Regions from separate parts of the Homo sapiens genome. Here region 2 is linked to region 1. Evidence: promoter capture Hi-C in human tissues and cell types (Jung and others, 2019). All regions are on one chromosome and are shown on one strand. Each heading gives the region's core, a stretch centred on a gene start or on the middle of the fragment in contact. The rest is flanking DNA. Distances are from core to core; before and after follow the strand shown.

Region 1 (6,688 bases), core at 1,933-4,432:
AGTTAAGGGTCAAAGTTCAATTTTTTTACCATGTGGCTATTCAGTGGTTCCAGCCCCTTTTGTTGAAAGCTTTCCTTTCTTCAGTGAATTGTCTTGGCACCTTGTTGAAAATCAATTGATCAATTAAATATAGTTCTATTTCTGGATTCTATTCTATTCTTTTGACCTATTTGTCTATCCTTATACCCTTACTATACTCTCTTGATTAGCTTCAAGAATTTTTATCATTTTTTAGTTCTGTTCCTTTCATCGTGGCTACTTTTGCCTCTTGACAATATTAGCTTAAGAGTTTATTTCAGAAGTTAGCACAGCTTTCAGGCTGCTGTGTATCTCAGAGTGTCTGTCTAAAAAATAGGAAAAATAAGAACTCCCTTATAGGGTTATTGGGAGAAATAAACAATCTAGTATACATGTTTAAAATGTATTATAACTCTAAAATAATCCTTAAGTGTTCAGAATATTGCTTATTTTTGTTTCACTTTTTGCTCTCTTGACCTTAAAACATATTCTTATGCAAGTTTACTGAAATCCCCCAGTAAGTTTCAGATTGTGGCAGGGCACCTGTTCTGTGGATTTAGGGAAAAACAAAGGCCCCAATATAATTGAGGGGAGTGACAGGCACCTGTTTTCTTCCTATTTACAGCAAGCCTTAACAGAAGGTGATGGCAATTCTTTCTGCCATTTTTACTTTGTCTGTTTTAAAAACAGACAAAGGTATTACTGGACTTCCAATGCTTTGCTCTTCCAGATATTTCTAATTTGATCCCCTGAACAGTCTGCTTTTTTTTTCTTTATTGTGGTAATTCCTTTTTCAGATGAATGACCTTTGCTCTCCTCACCCCAAATCAATGACCTTTTAAACTGTTTTAATATTTACTAGGGAATTACTTGTTCTGAGGCTTGGATTGAGTTTCTCTAAAAGATGGTATTCTAGAATTTAAATGGTGGTGAGAGGAAGGGTTGAAAAGCTGAATCCATTCTTTTACCCAGACGAAACTAAGCTGAATAACAACTCTCTCTCTTTCTCAATCATTTAAGAGCTTATAACAAAGATGAATATAAAGTGTCAATTATTTTACAACTTTTACCTGTTACCGCCCTAGTTCACACCCCAACTGTCATTCTTATTTCTAAATGGAAACTTTCCTTCCACAAGCTTAATGGCAACTTTTTACCTTTTTGGCCTTTGTGTTTACTAGATTGTAAAATCCTGGAGGACAGCTCTTTGACGTTATTTATCTTAGTTTTAGATTTTAGCATCAAACCAAGTACATTGCATTCATTTAATAAATGTTTATTCAATTAAACCAACTGCTAATATTCTACCCAATACAGTGTCATATATATATCCGTATGTATATATATAATATTGCCTGATACACACAAACACACACACACATATATATATGTATGTAACAGGCAATAATTGTTCGTGATTTAGTGATAGTAGGAACTCAGTATTTATTCATTGATCAATTAATAGTTTGAACACATTCTATATTTAGAGCATTAGATGAGTCAAGTGCTACTTTCTTTTTTAAAAAAATGTTAGAACCAGCTGGACGCAGTGGCTCACGCCTGTAATCCCAACACTTTGGGAGGCTGAGGCAGGTGGATCACGAGGTCAGGAGATCAAGACCATCCTGGCTAACACAGAGAAACCCCGTCTCTACTAAAAATACAAAAAATTAGCCAGGCGTGATGGCAGGTGCCTGTGATCCCAGCTACTTGGGATGCTGAGGCAGGATAACGGTGTGAACTCGGGAGGCGGAGCTTGCAGTGAGCTGAGATCGCGCCACTGCACTCCAGCCTGGGCTACACAGGCAGACTCCGTCTCAAAAAAAAAAAAAAAAAAATGTTAGAACCATTCAACTAGCATTCTGTAGACCAAATTATCTAAACAGTAGCTCTCCTCTTCCTTTTTCTGCCATGTTATCCATAAGATTTGGCCTGTATCACCTTATAATAAATGAAGAGAGTCTTAAATTCTTATAATACCAAACTCCTTTGGAGAGAATTCAGAATAGATTTATGTCATCTCAAATTCTATCCTATTCCAGTTAATGTTACAGACAGATTCTAGTATACTTTACAAAGATAGGTGAATAAGTAGAGTTTTGAAAAGATACAGACATAAAAGTGAAGAACAGATGCCTTCTGATGCTAGATTTTCCAAAACTCCTACTGTTATGCTTATATAGAAATCATTCTCAGACCTTCCTTGGATTAATTTCTGTTCCTAGAGCAAACTGGTAGTTATTTCTTTCTTTAATAGAACATGAACTTGTCCATCACATCCTAGAAAGTTAGTCCTAGGGATATCCTTTAAAGCCTAAAGGAGTAAATTAAGAGCAAAAAAAGGAAGTAGACCTTGCAACAGGTGGTGAGTGTCTGAGATATAGCACTAGGAGAGAAATAATATAGATTGAAAACAGAAATCCTTAAACATTTCTCATATAAACCCATGAAAGATAGATCCATAAATATTGTGGGGACTATGGGGACTAGGAAGCTTGGAAGTATCCCTAATCTAGATAGTGATGGTAGGCTAAATATCTACGGCTTCCGTAAACGTTCCTCTAAACCTCCCTGTAAAAAACACACTAAGCTGATTGTGTAATGAGCTGATCCAGTACAATTGCCTCCAATTTCATTCTGGACCCTGAACAGGAGGGGACATCGTGACAAAGCAAATTGTCTGGTATCATGAATTTGGAACACCGTAAGTGATCTTTACTGAGGGTTACATTCTGTCATTGTCAGCCTTTTAAGGAGGCCTTGCCACCAGCGCAGGGGAGGTGAAGTCTAAGGGAAGGTAATATTGTCAATGCCTGCTAATTAGTTCTACCCTGGAGATTTTAACTTTCTGCGAAGTTTTTAAAAACAACTTCCAAAACTCTGCTGATCCTGAAATGTTCGAGAATTCAGAGTTCCTAGACAATGGCTACTGTCCCCCTTCCCACTGATTAGGGGAGTTGGCATTTCAGGAACCAGAGTTTCTAAGGGCGCCAAATAGAAGGGCTCAAAGGGAATCAGCAGGCGATGGTTACTGTGGGCGGGTAAATCAGGTGATTTAGAGGAGGGGTTTGGCGAGGTTGGGGTCGGGCTTTAAACGTGGGAGGGCTAATTAACAGGAGATTAACTGGAGAGGGGCGGTGCCTGCGTCCGGCCCGCGCGGCCACAGTCCCTGCATTGCGCGCGACCCGGCGGCGGGACAGGCTTGCTGCTTCCTCCTCCTCGGCCTCACCGTGCGTACTGGGAGGGGAGAAGGGGACCGCATGCAAAGGGTGGCAGGCAGGGAGGGCCAGGGTGGGTGGCAGATGGAAGACTTGGGGGGGTCTCTGCCAGCTGGAAGTGCTTGGCTCCACTTAGCAGCTAAACTTAGCTTTTCAATCGATCGCTTTTGAAAGGGAATTGTATTTCTGTCCCCGTGCGGGTAAGTTTTCCCATTTCTCAAACTCCAGGAATGAAACGAGAGAGTCTTTTCATGCTTGAGTGATGATTTCCAAACTTAGCCTTTTCAAGTCAAAGTAACCTCCTGTTTGAAAGGGTCCCTTGAACTCTGGGGAAGGAGGAAAAGGCACGTGTAGTAATGGAGGAAATGCCTGTAGTTTGAACGACTGCTGTTCTCCCCAAGAGTGCAAAAGCCTGCGATGTCTCAGGTTTCATGGGCATAGTGGCCTTTATGCCTATTGTAAGGCAGGATTTGCTCTTCTGAGTTCACTTTGATAGGAGAAACATCAGCAAGTTTTAAAATAATACTAAATAATACTACTGCTAATAATGCTAGCTATCGAAACAAGAGGATGTGGGTTAGATGATAATATTTTTGTGTGATATTATAGCCAGTGACAAGAGAGCTAAGGGTGAGCCCCTTGGGACGGTTCTCACCTGTGCCCCACTTCCCCAGTCTGGAGGAGGAAGCCATGTGGAAGGAGAAAAGGAGAAGGGAACTCTCTTTTTCGGGAATTAAGGTGTCATATATTGCTCTAGCTGGCTTGGGACAGAGGAGAGAGGAGTGCATGTAAATCTTCTAGTCTCTCTGCTTCTCTTGAAATGTGGCAGTCTGAGCTCCACGTTTATATTCCCCTATTTCTTCTCCCTAATTTCTTACCCAGTGAGTGCTGAGTGGGTGCCCGCAAGCATTGCTGTATAGCACCCAGGCCTCCAGTGAGCAATCCTTAAAGCCCAGTTTTCCTGGGGTCCCAGCCTGCTGTGAGTCCCAGCCTACACCTACCTTTTGCATATGCTTTTCTTGGCCTTAGGATAGTACTGGACTTTGTTGTCCTCTGCTGTTTCCAAAATAAGAGGGCTATGTGTGCGATTATCTTTGGTAATTAAAAAAAAAAAAAAAAAAAAGGCAAATCAGTCCAAATTTGGATATTACCCTCTCTGGCAGACGAGTAAAATTTTTCTACCGCTTTGTTTTAGAGTGGTGTCTATGAATCCCTGAGATTGGAAAAGGAGGTCAGGTCAGCACAGAGAAAGGCCTTACCCCACCACTCTCCCGAGAGGCACCAGCATTTCACCTGCAGCCTCTGGGCTCTGAACCCCACTTTGCATGAGACCACATAGTGGGCTGAGTCTGCAGCCACCACGATGCCTTCAGGAAATGCTAGAATTCATCTAGAGTTCCAGATTAACGTATCCGCAACATGGCCACCGAATTATCTTTTTTCTTTATCTCATGTGTAGTGTTTGTTAGTTTTAGAAGGTACAAAATTGCAGAGTCATGGCCCTGGGGATGCGTGCCCAGATTATTCATGTGTTTCACAATATTGATGCAGAAAGGCTGGCCACCTCATCCTGAGAAGAGAACTTTGCTCATTTTGGCCAAAAGCCTGTAAAGGGAAAGGGCGTTCCTCAACTGAGAAGTGAAGATTCTTCTCTGCTAGATAGTACGGGGGTTTGGGGGGAGGGGTAGAAAACAGGAATGAGATTTGACAAGGAAAGGCCTCCAGAAGACCAGAGCTGTTGAGAATTCTTAGCCTTGATGGTGGGTAGCCCAGAGGTAAACACTTGAGAAAACTAAGTTGCAGTCTTGGTCTCTCCACTGTGAATTTGGGTCATATTACTCACTACTTTTCTGGGCCTTAATTTCCTTACATACTAAAGGTAGAAAAAAATATTATTTGCTCTACCTCAGGATTTTTCGGGTCAAGCGAGATAAAATATGCAAAAGCTTTTTGAAAATTCTAAAATCCTCAGTGCCTAGAACAGCGCCAAAGTCGGAAGTTTTTTATTTACCAAACACACAGCATTTAACAGGTCCCAGAGCTTCTTTTTTTTTTTTTTTTTTTGAGACGGGGTCTCGCACTGTCACCCAGGCTGGAGTGCAGTGGCACGATCTCAGCTCACTGCAAACTCCGCTTCCCGGGTTCACGCCATTCTCCTGCCTCAGCCTCCCGAGTAGCTGGGACTACAGGCACCTGCCACCACGCCCAGCTAATTTTTTGTATTTTTAATAGAGACGGGGTTTCACCATGTTAGCCAGGATGGTCTCGATCTCCTGACCTCGTGATCTGCCCGCCTCCGGCTCCCAAAGTGCTGGGATTACAGGCATGAGCCACCGCGCTCGGCCCCCGCTTTTCTAACTTTATTCAGCTAAGGCTCACAAGAATCCAGTGAAATGGGAGTTCTTATTCAACTCCTTTCACAGGTAAGGTGAAGAGGTCCCAGAGAAGTTAAGTTACACTTACTAAGTGGCAGGGTCGAGATCCACCCGAATGCCAATCTAGTTCCAGAGTTTTGAATACTTGACACTCTACCCCATGTCCTCTTATGAAGAAGTCACCTCCACATTAGGGGACAGAGCTCTGGTCTCTGGCAAGAGAGGTTGAGATACTTATTACCATGCTGGCCAATGAATGGAGAATATAATGAGCAAACAAACCACTGTGCAAACATGATTGATCATTGTAAATATTTTCTATAATTCATAACCAAATTAGTGTTTTTCCCTGCTTACTTTTCTTTGATTATTTCTCCTTCATTCCTTGAATCCTCAAACCACTTAACATTTCATCCTGTTATTTATTATTATACAGGACCACTCTTCTCCCTCCTGACAACCTTTCCTGGTAAAAGGCTTTCAGTAATTTTGTTGTGGCTGCAGAGCCAACCATGATAATGGCTGCAGTTTTGTGCAGCAAACTCGTGGCAATTGATTGATAAATCAGCTTTGGGGGAAAAAAAGTTTACAACAGCATTGCCTTAATCCATGCTATAAACAACTACTATTTCTTAATGTTCTTACCTTAACTGCTCATTACCTGGCTCTTGGGTACCTGTGAAGGGGAAGATGTTACCCTGGAGAGATGGTTCATTGACTCATCAGGTGTGTGTCAGATGCTTGGTGCTGGCCAGTCTCCCAAACCCACAGACTTGAGGAGTTAAGCCACATTCTTCGTGATTGAGAAACTCTGTGTGAAGTGCACAGTGTGTTGTTCATTTTTAAAGAAAAGGCCTCCCATTGCCCTTTTTCCCAGCCACTGACTTCTTTGTGTACTTTCCTACCAACAGTCCTGGGAGGCTGCCATTTTTTTCTCTACTCTTTCAATACTGATTTTCAATGAGGGGGAAAAAAAAGTTCTCTGGACTTTTGTTCCATCAATACATAAATTTCATTCTGGGAACATTAGTAGAGGCCTATAGAGAATGTTTTAGTTTTAAAATTATTGTTAAGTAG
Region 2 (6,688 bases), core at 1,366-3,865, 250 kb after region 1:
TCTTTCCCAGTAGTTTCATTTTAAACAAATCATCCTCACGTATAAAAATAGCAAATTGCATTAAATTTTATATAAGACATTTTACAGCTTCTTATATAGGAAAAGCTATAAGCAGCTTCCATGGCACATACCACAGCAAACAGCTTTGAATAAACTCTGGCAAGATATCATTCATAGAGATACAAGATACATACAGCCTATATAGACTTAATGCTTAAAGTACGTCACAAAAAGTTGCAGGTTCAAAGAAAGAACAACAAAAAAATTGCCCAGAAGTTGAGTTCCAGTTACATTCTGACATCCTTTATTGCCTTCAAGTTGAAAAAGAAAGTATTTTGGTATTTCTCCTAGTTCTATTTAATGCTTGCTGCAAAACATTAAATAAAAGCATGTAGAATTCCTAATTCTAAGACTCTGATTATGCACTGGCTGGCTACTTTATTCATATTTTTTCAAACTGAAATAAGGCGGATAGATCGCAGTGATGAGTACCTTAAACATTATCACTACAACTTTGCTATTTTTACACAGTCATTTTTAATCTACTTTAGACAATATCAATTTTAAGCTCCAACTTAAAGTACAAAGATGTTTCTATATCTAATTTGTCATAAGTTACTCTTCAAAAAAATAAAAATAATTATAAATGCATTGGATAGATTTTTAACAGATACATTTCTTGGTCTGCCTGGCATATAAATATTGACTGGGTAGATTTCATAATTTCAGTCAGAAACATGTTAGAGGAAGTTTTAAAAAGTCAGTCCTTCTCTTTCTTTAGCTAATGAGTTTCCAAAGGAGGAAAGCAATCCCACAAATGGGCAAATTCTGTCTCATCAGATATGTACATTTTATGTTCCACAGCTAAATGAATGATATGCCAGTCCAGTTCTGGAAAGTGAAAAATTCCACTGTTAAGATTTGATACTTAGTGTACAAACTATGGAAGATTTTTCTTTCTTTTTCTCTTAAATATAGCTACTAGTGCCATAAAGGAGAAAAAAAATGGAAAGACATCAAATTTTCCATAATAATAGTTTCTATAACCCTTAAGAAAATATCTTACAGTCTAAATTATTATATTTTCATATTATTTAATATCTCAAATCATCATTCAAAGAACTTATAAATCACATCATCATTATCACTACTCAAAGTAACACAAGTAAAACACAGATCTTTAAGTCTCATTGCTCATAATTAGGAGTGTTTCTTTCTTTCTGTTTATGGAGGGAGAAGTGTATTAAGAAGCTAAATGTAATTGGCAAAAATATTTTACTTTTCACTGTATGTAAAAAATTATCTGGCCCAGGACAATACTTGTAACCAACAATATATGTGGACAGGCAAATTACTATTTTATTACTTTCCTTATTCTTACTTATGTTCTTAATAATTTAGACATGAAATATAAATATGTAAGTTATTTATGTTCAGTTTGGTGCCTCAGAGAAATTACATAATATCAAAGGGCCAAAAATAAAACAACTTTTAAAATAGAACTTAAGTGATTAAACATTGGTTATATAAAATACAAAATGGAAGTATGCTGAATTTGGAGGAAAATGAGAAAAATTACTTTTAAAGCTCAGGAAAATAACCACAGAATATTACTTGTTCACTGATTATATTACAGATTCTATGTAATTAAATAAACAATTAGATAGTGGCAACTTTAGGTGTACCTTCCTTTTTCCTTTAGCTAATTTCACCCATTGCCTGAAATCATACCTCTCACACAGTAAGCATTTAATAAACATTTTTGAACAACTATTTGTATCTAATCAAAGAAATTAATTTGTAAATAAAATCTGCTTGACTATATTTGTTGATTTACCATACAGAATCAGACTATTTTAATTTGCCAATCAGAGACATATGCAGTTGAACATCTACACAATTTCACTGAGACACATGCTTTCCACATAAAACTAAATACCACATCTGCGGCATAATCTATAACACGTAACACAGTGTTTTACACACACCAATTCTCCACTTCACTTCTGCAATTTTAAGTGTTGATGAAGTTGCCAAATAAGTCACATTATATACAACAAACTTTCAGTTTAAATAAGGGACAAGATTGCTGTTAACAACTTAGTTTGAAATGTTAACAACCGTTAGGCTGTTAACATAACAACTGGCCATTAATGTGGTAATGACCAATTTAAGCGGAAATCGTACTCTGAGAAATGAATATATTGGCAATCAGGACCAGGGTTTATATTTGAAAGAATATTATATACTTTTAATAAGTTAACCACCATTAAAAGTTTGAGCCTATCAGGAGGTAACTGAAAGTTATTCTACAAAAAGCCACATACACTCTTATAGAGATACAAAAACTTCTGATATGAAAACTATTTTTGATAAATGCGTTTTAGCAAAACACTTGAGACTATCAAATATATTTTTACTACCACAAGGAAAAAGAAAACAAAACAAATCTAAGATTACTGTCTTTGCTCGATGCTATGTTGACAGCTAAGAAGCATGTTATACTCACAATATAGGTATTTCCTTGGCAAATTTTTATTTTTGTTTTCAAAAACCCCAGATATTTCAGTTGACATTCTTTCAAGTTTACTTAATTTTTGTCCTTTGGTTTATTAAAACACCTTAACATTGCCCGGGCTATATAAACTCCTTATTTGAAATGGTAACATAAATCCACTTGAGATACTGAAATTACAAACAAATGTAAAAGTCAAAAGGAGTCAAAAAGCTATGACTATTGGTTAGTACAGATAAAGCAAAACTAAAAAGCAGTATTAAATCACTAAAAGCAAATACAAATGCTTTATGTGGAAATGAGGCTCTAATTCACAATGGGCAGAAGAGAAATTTTTATTTCAAAGAGGAAAGTTCAAAGACCGGAGAGTTCTAAAAAAATGAACATTGTACATTAATTTTGATTCGTTGTGCCAACACAATGAGGGAAATCCTGGCTGGAGAGAGTGACTTCTCATTGTTGGCACCTTGCATGTGTTTTACGCACTTGGAACACAGAGAAGTAGTAACAAGTGGCCATAATTAGTCAGGAGGCTGTCAGATGAGGCCGTCCTAAGAGCGAGAAGGAGTAGAATCTGATAAACAGTACCGCTTTCACCCTCTTGTAACTACCATTAATCAAATGATATATTTTTATATCTAAAGATTGGATCTGACTGAAAATAGCTGAATTATATACTAAGAACGACCAAATTCCCTAGAAAACACCTCATCAAATGACCAAGGTACTAAAGGAGTTACCATTGATTGATAAATTTTGTCATAAGGGAAAAAATTCCAAATAAATCGCTTAATGTCAGACCAGAAAAATGATAAATTGTATTAAATATGAAAATCCCAATGATGCCATATATCATTTCTCTAATTTGATAGATCCTACTTTATTAATATAAGTAATTTGCAGCTGAAGTAAGTCACAAAGTTGCCTGAAAAGCAAAATAATTTTCCTTCAGCAGAAATTCTGTGTTGAGTACTTAATGCTGGAAAACAAGCTTTAGTAGGCTTCATAGCTCCATAACCAAGAACACCTGCCTTGTCCTGAAAGCATTCAGATGTTTACAGGTTGGAGAGTGGCTGTCATTTTCCTATAATGATGGAGGTCTTTACTTTGTTATTATCCATAAAACTACTGGCAAGTCTGAGGCGGTTCAATTGCTTAGTTGTATTTTTGAGATTCCCGTTTAGAATGTCATGAGGTGGGGCGAGAGGAAGATGTATCTACACTTGGGGAAAGTTTTCAAAACTCTACAATAAATGCACTAATAGATATTAACCAAGGATTTGCACCTGACTTCCTCTGACACACCTGAAACAGAGAAGACAGCTGAATAACTTTAGAAGACTAAATTCAGGTCCAACTTAGAGGCAACAATTAAACTCTTTTACACAGTCCATTTTTTTCAAGTTGAACTTTTTAAAAATAGTTAAGATATTTTGCCAAATGGCTGATCAATTTCTTTGTGTTATGCTCAACCCCCATTCCCCCTTAAGCTCCAAAAAAAAAAAAAAAAAAAAAAAAGAAAAAAAAGAAAAAATAAGTAAATCAACCTGAATGCTGATTTCGACCAAATACATCCTTGACATTAACTGGCAGTTTCAACATAGGCAGCGCCATAACCAACTGCCTGAGTGTGCAGGCAAGCCAAATTGAAATACTTTAAATATTGTGGTTTGTTGGCTATTCCTTAAGCATTAATTTGAGTAACACACACAGGGCAACGCTTTGAAGGCTGACAGGTAACTTCTTTCAGGAATATAAGCTGGCAGTAAGGAAATGAAACAAGCAAACAAAAAATACACTTACAAAAGTACTTTAAAAGGCATCCAGTCATCACTGGTGTGCAAGGATAATTCCTACCTCAGATAGTCTCTGCGACAAAGGATAAGATTAGCTTTAGTGTACAGGGTGGAGCCCACCTCTCCCAAGCGACAGTCACAGCAGGCACACTTCAGGCAGTCTTCATGCCAGTATTTGTCCAGTGCCTTTAGAAGATACCGGTCCTTGATCTTTCGGTTGCAGCCAGCACAACCTTTCGGCTTGGTGTCTGGCTGGACTGAGAGCATTTGTATACCTAAAGGAAGACAAAAGCAAAAAAGAGAGCTGAGACTACCAGACAGAATAAAAAGACCTCAAACAAGTTAAATATTTAATATTTCCTTATTCTAGGAGTGTTAGCTTTTCTTGTTTAGGGCTATACTGAAATCAAACCCAATTTTGGAAACAAAAAGTCTCAAACTTTATCAAGTGCTTATTAAATCATTCAAAAAGTTACACATGCCAAGTGACAATAATAATAAATTCATGTTGACCATGGTAAATTGACATTATAAATATGAAGTTCAATAACATTAAATAATTTTATAGTATCTTCATTCTCCCCATAGAGCAGTTCCTTTAGAAAGAAAATGTGAGTAAATAACAATCTGAAAAGAAAGCTATTTAACAAATTAATCTATGCACAGTCCCTACAAGTAAAAAAATGAGTTTTGCTTAACTGTTTAAAAATTTCACTTAATATGTGCTTGATGGTGGAAGGAGAGGGCACCTGGTATGGGGTTACACTAACCTTATTCAGCAGTAGAGGTGTTTATAGTTAAGTACACAGAACAGCTACCCAAAAAGCTCACCAATCCTATATTTCTTGCTTGCATCCAAATACTTCTTCTATGTCCTTGATATTTCAAAGTATTCATTGTGTTCAAATATAACATTTATACTCACAAGCATCAGTCAGCACCTATATTAATGGCAGATTACTTAACTATATACTATATGCTTTTATGTAAACCTAAAGTATATGATTATACCATTTATTACCATAAACATGCAATTATTTGTTTTATAAAGGAAAGAAAAAACAATAGAAGGCAAGATCTAAATATATATACAATTATACAAACATATATAAGTAAATATATACATGTTATATGTATACTATGCTAAACATAGAAACATTTATATATTTTAAAGGTATAAATCCATCATAAATAAGGAATCCAGCTGGATTCCATGGGCTTTACAGTTTGATTGAAATCTTTTGAATGAATGGACATTCACCTTGAGTGTCTTCTTATTTCCTAGGTATTAAAACACCCAGCTTTAGCAAGAAGCTGGACCAACTATCCAATGCCTCATATTTATCAAATAACTCATTTTAAGCACTATAAAGTACTGCAGACATCATCAATTCCAAATTCCCTCATTTTACAAATTATGTTACCGAGGCCCAAGAGAGGTTCAGAGACTTGCTCAAAGCTGAAAGACAGTTACGCTATAGACTCCAGCCAAATGGCCTTCTTACAGTCCAGAGACCCTTCTGCTGCATTATGTTTGCTCTCCTAGGCATAAAGTTTTAAACTTGCATGTAGAAGGATACAAAACACCAAATGTGCATGCATTATAGGATAAGAAATGTCAAGCTATAATCTGCACTTTTGTACATTTTCCTTCTCCAAAACAGCTAAACCTCCTCCAGTTTCCTCTGATATCTTATGATGAAGGCTTCACCCCCATCACAACTTTCACAACCTTTTAAAAAAAAAATCCCACTGGTAAGAGACATCAAGGCATCCGCAGAGCGGAATAACTTTTCTAACTACAAATAATACATGAGTTGCACAAAATATTGTTAGGATGTTGAACTTTCATTAGAAAATAACTCGTCTGGTAGAGTTGTGTAGGGAATGGCAGGAAATAAAGCAGAGTAGCTGTTCTTTCTTTCTGCATCATAAGCATAGCTGTAGTCACCGGAGCTGCAGACTAACAGCTGGATTTGTAAGAAGAGCAGGTGGTATCCCTATAGCCTGCTTTCTGTTCCTTTCCTTTGAAGGAGCTAAGGGCCTAGTGTAGATTAATCATAACCCTTGATAGCTCTGCTAAATCTCACTCTCTAGAACTTCTAACAAATGAAGTTTCTTTGATCAGAACTAGTTATCCTCTTCTAGCAAGGTTCCACAAGGAGTGAATCCCATTAATTACAGTGAACAACAGATCCAAGTGCCTGTTAACCACATATCTAGGGGGAAGGGGAAGTTTTGATTTACTCAGTGAAATTCTGGATGGTGTTACTGAAAACACCTAGATAATAAATATTAAGAGAAGCCATTCTAATTAAGCCATCCTAATTAACGGCCATTCTATTAAATTTGTAAGGCTATTATTTTTATTTATCAC

The links. The method cuts DNA at HindIII sites, captures the fragments that hold promoters and counts their contacts. A contact is called where the count stands out against the background at its distance.
Region 2: a contact is called between a fragment that was not itself captured here and the fragment with the promoter of MGST1 in region 1, in 1 of the 25 tissues and cell types used here (hippocampus).

The regions. Positions count from the first base shown.
Region 1 is chr12:16,344,463-16,351,150 of GRCh38, forward strand. MGST1 (microsomal glutathione S-transferase 1) reads left to right here and starts at 3,183. Exons shown (of 4, transcript NM_020300.5): 1 at 3,183-3,248. RefSeq lists enhancers at 2,273-3,202, 4,133-5,062. The HindIII fragment of the contact is 4,760 bases long and covers 1,835-6,594 here.
Region 2 is chr12:16,596,283-16,602,970 of GRCh38, forward strand. LMO3 (LIM domain only 3) reads right to left here. Exons shown (of 4, transcript NM_018640.5): 2 at 4,373-4,586. The coding sequence starts at 4,578. Among named protein-coding and RNA genes, the nearest start is that of LMO3, 6.5 kb to the right of the region's middle. The HindIII fragment of the contact is 6,195 bases long and covers 1-5,713 here.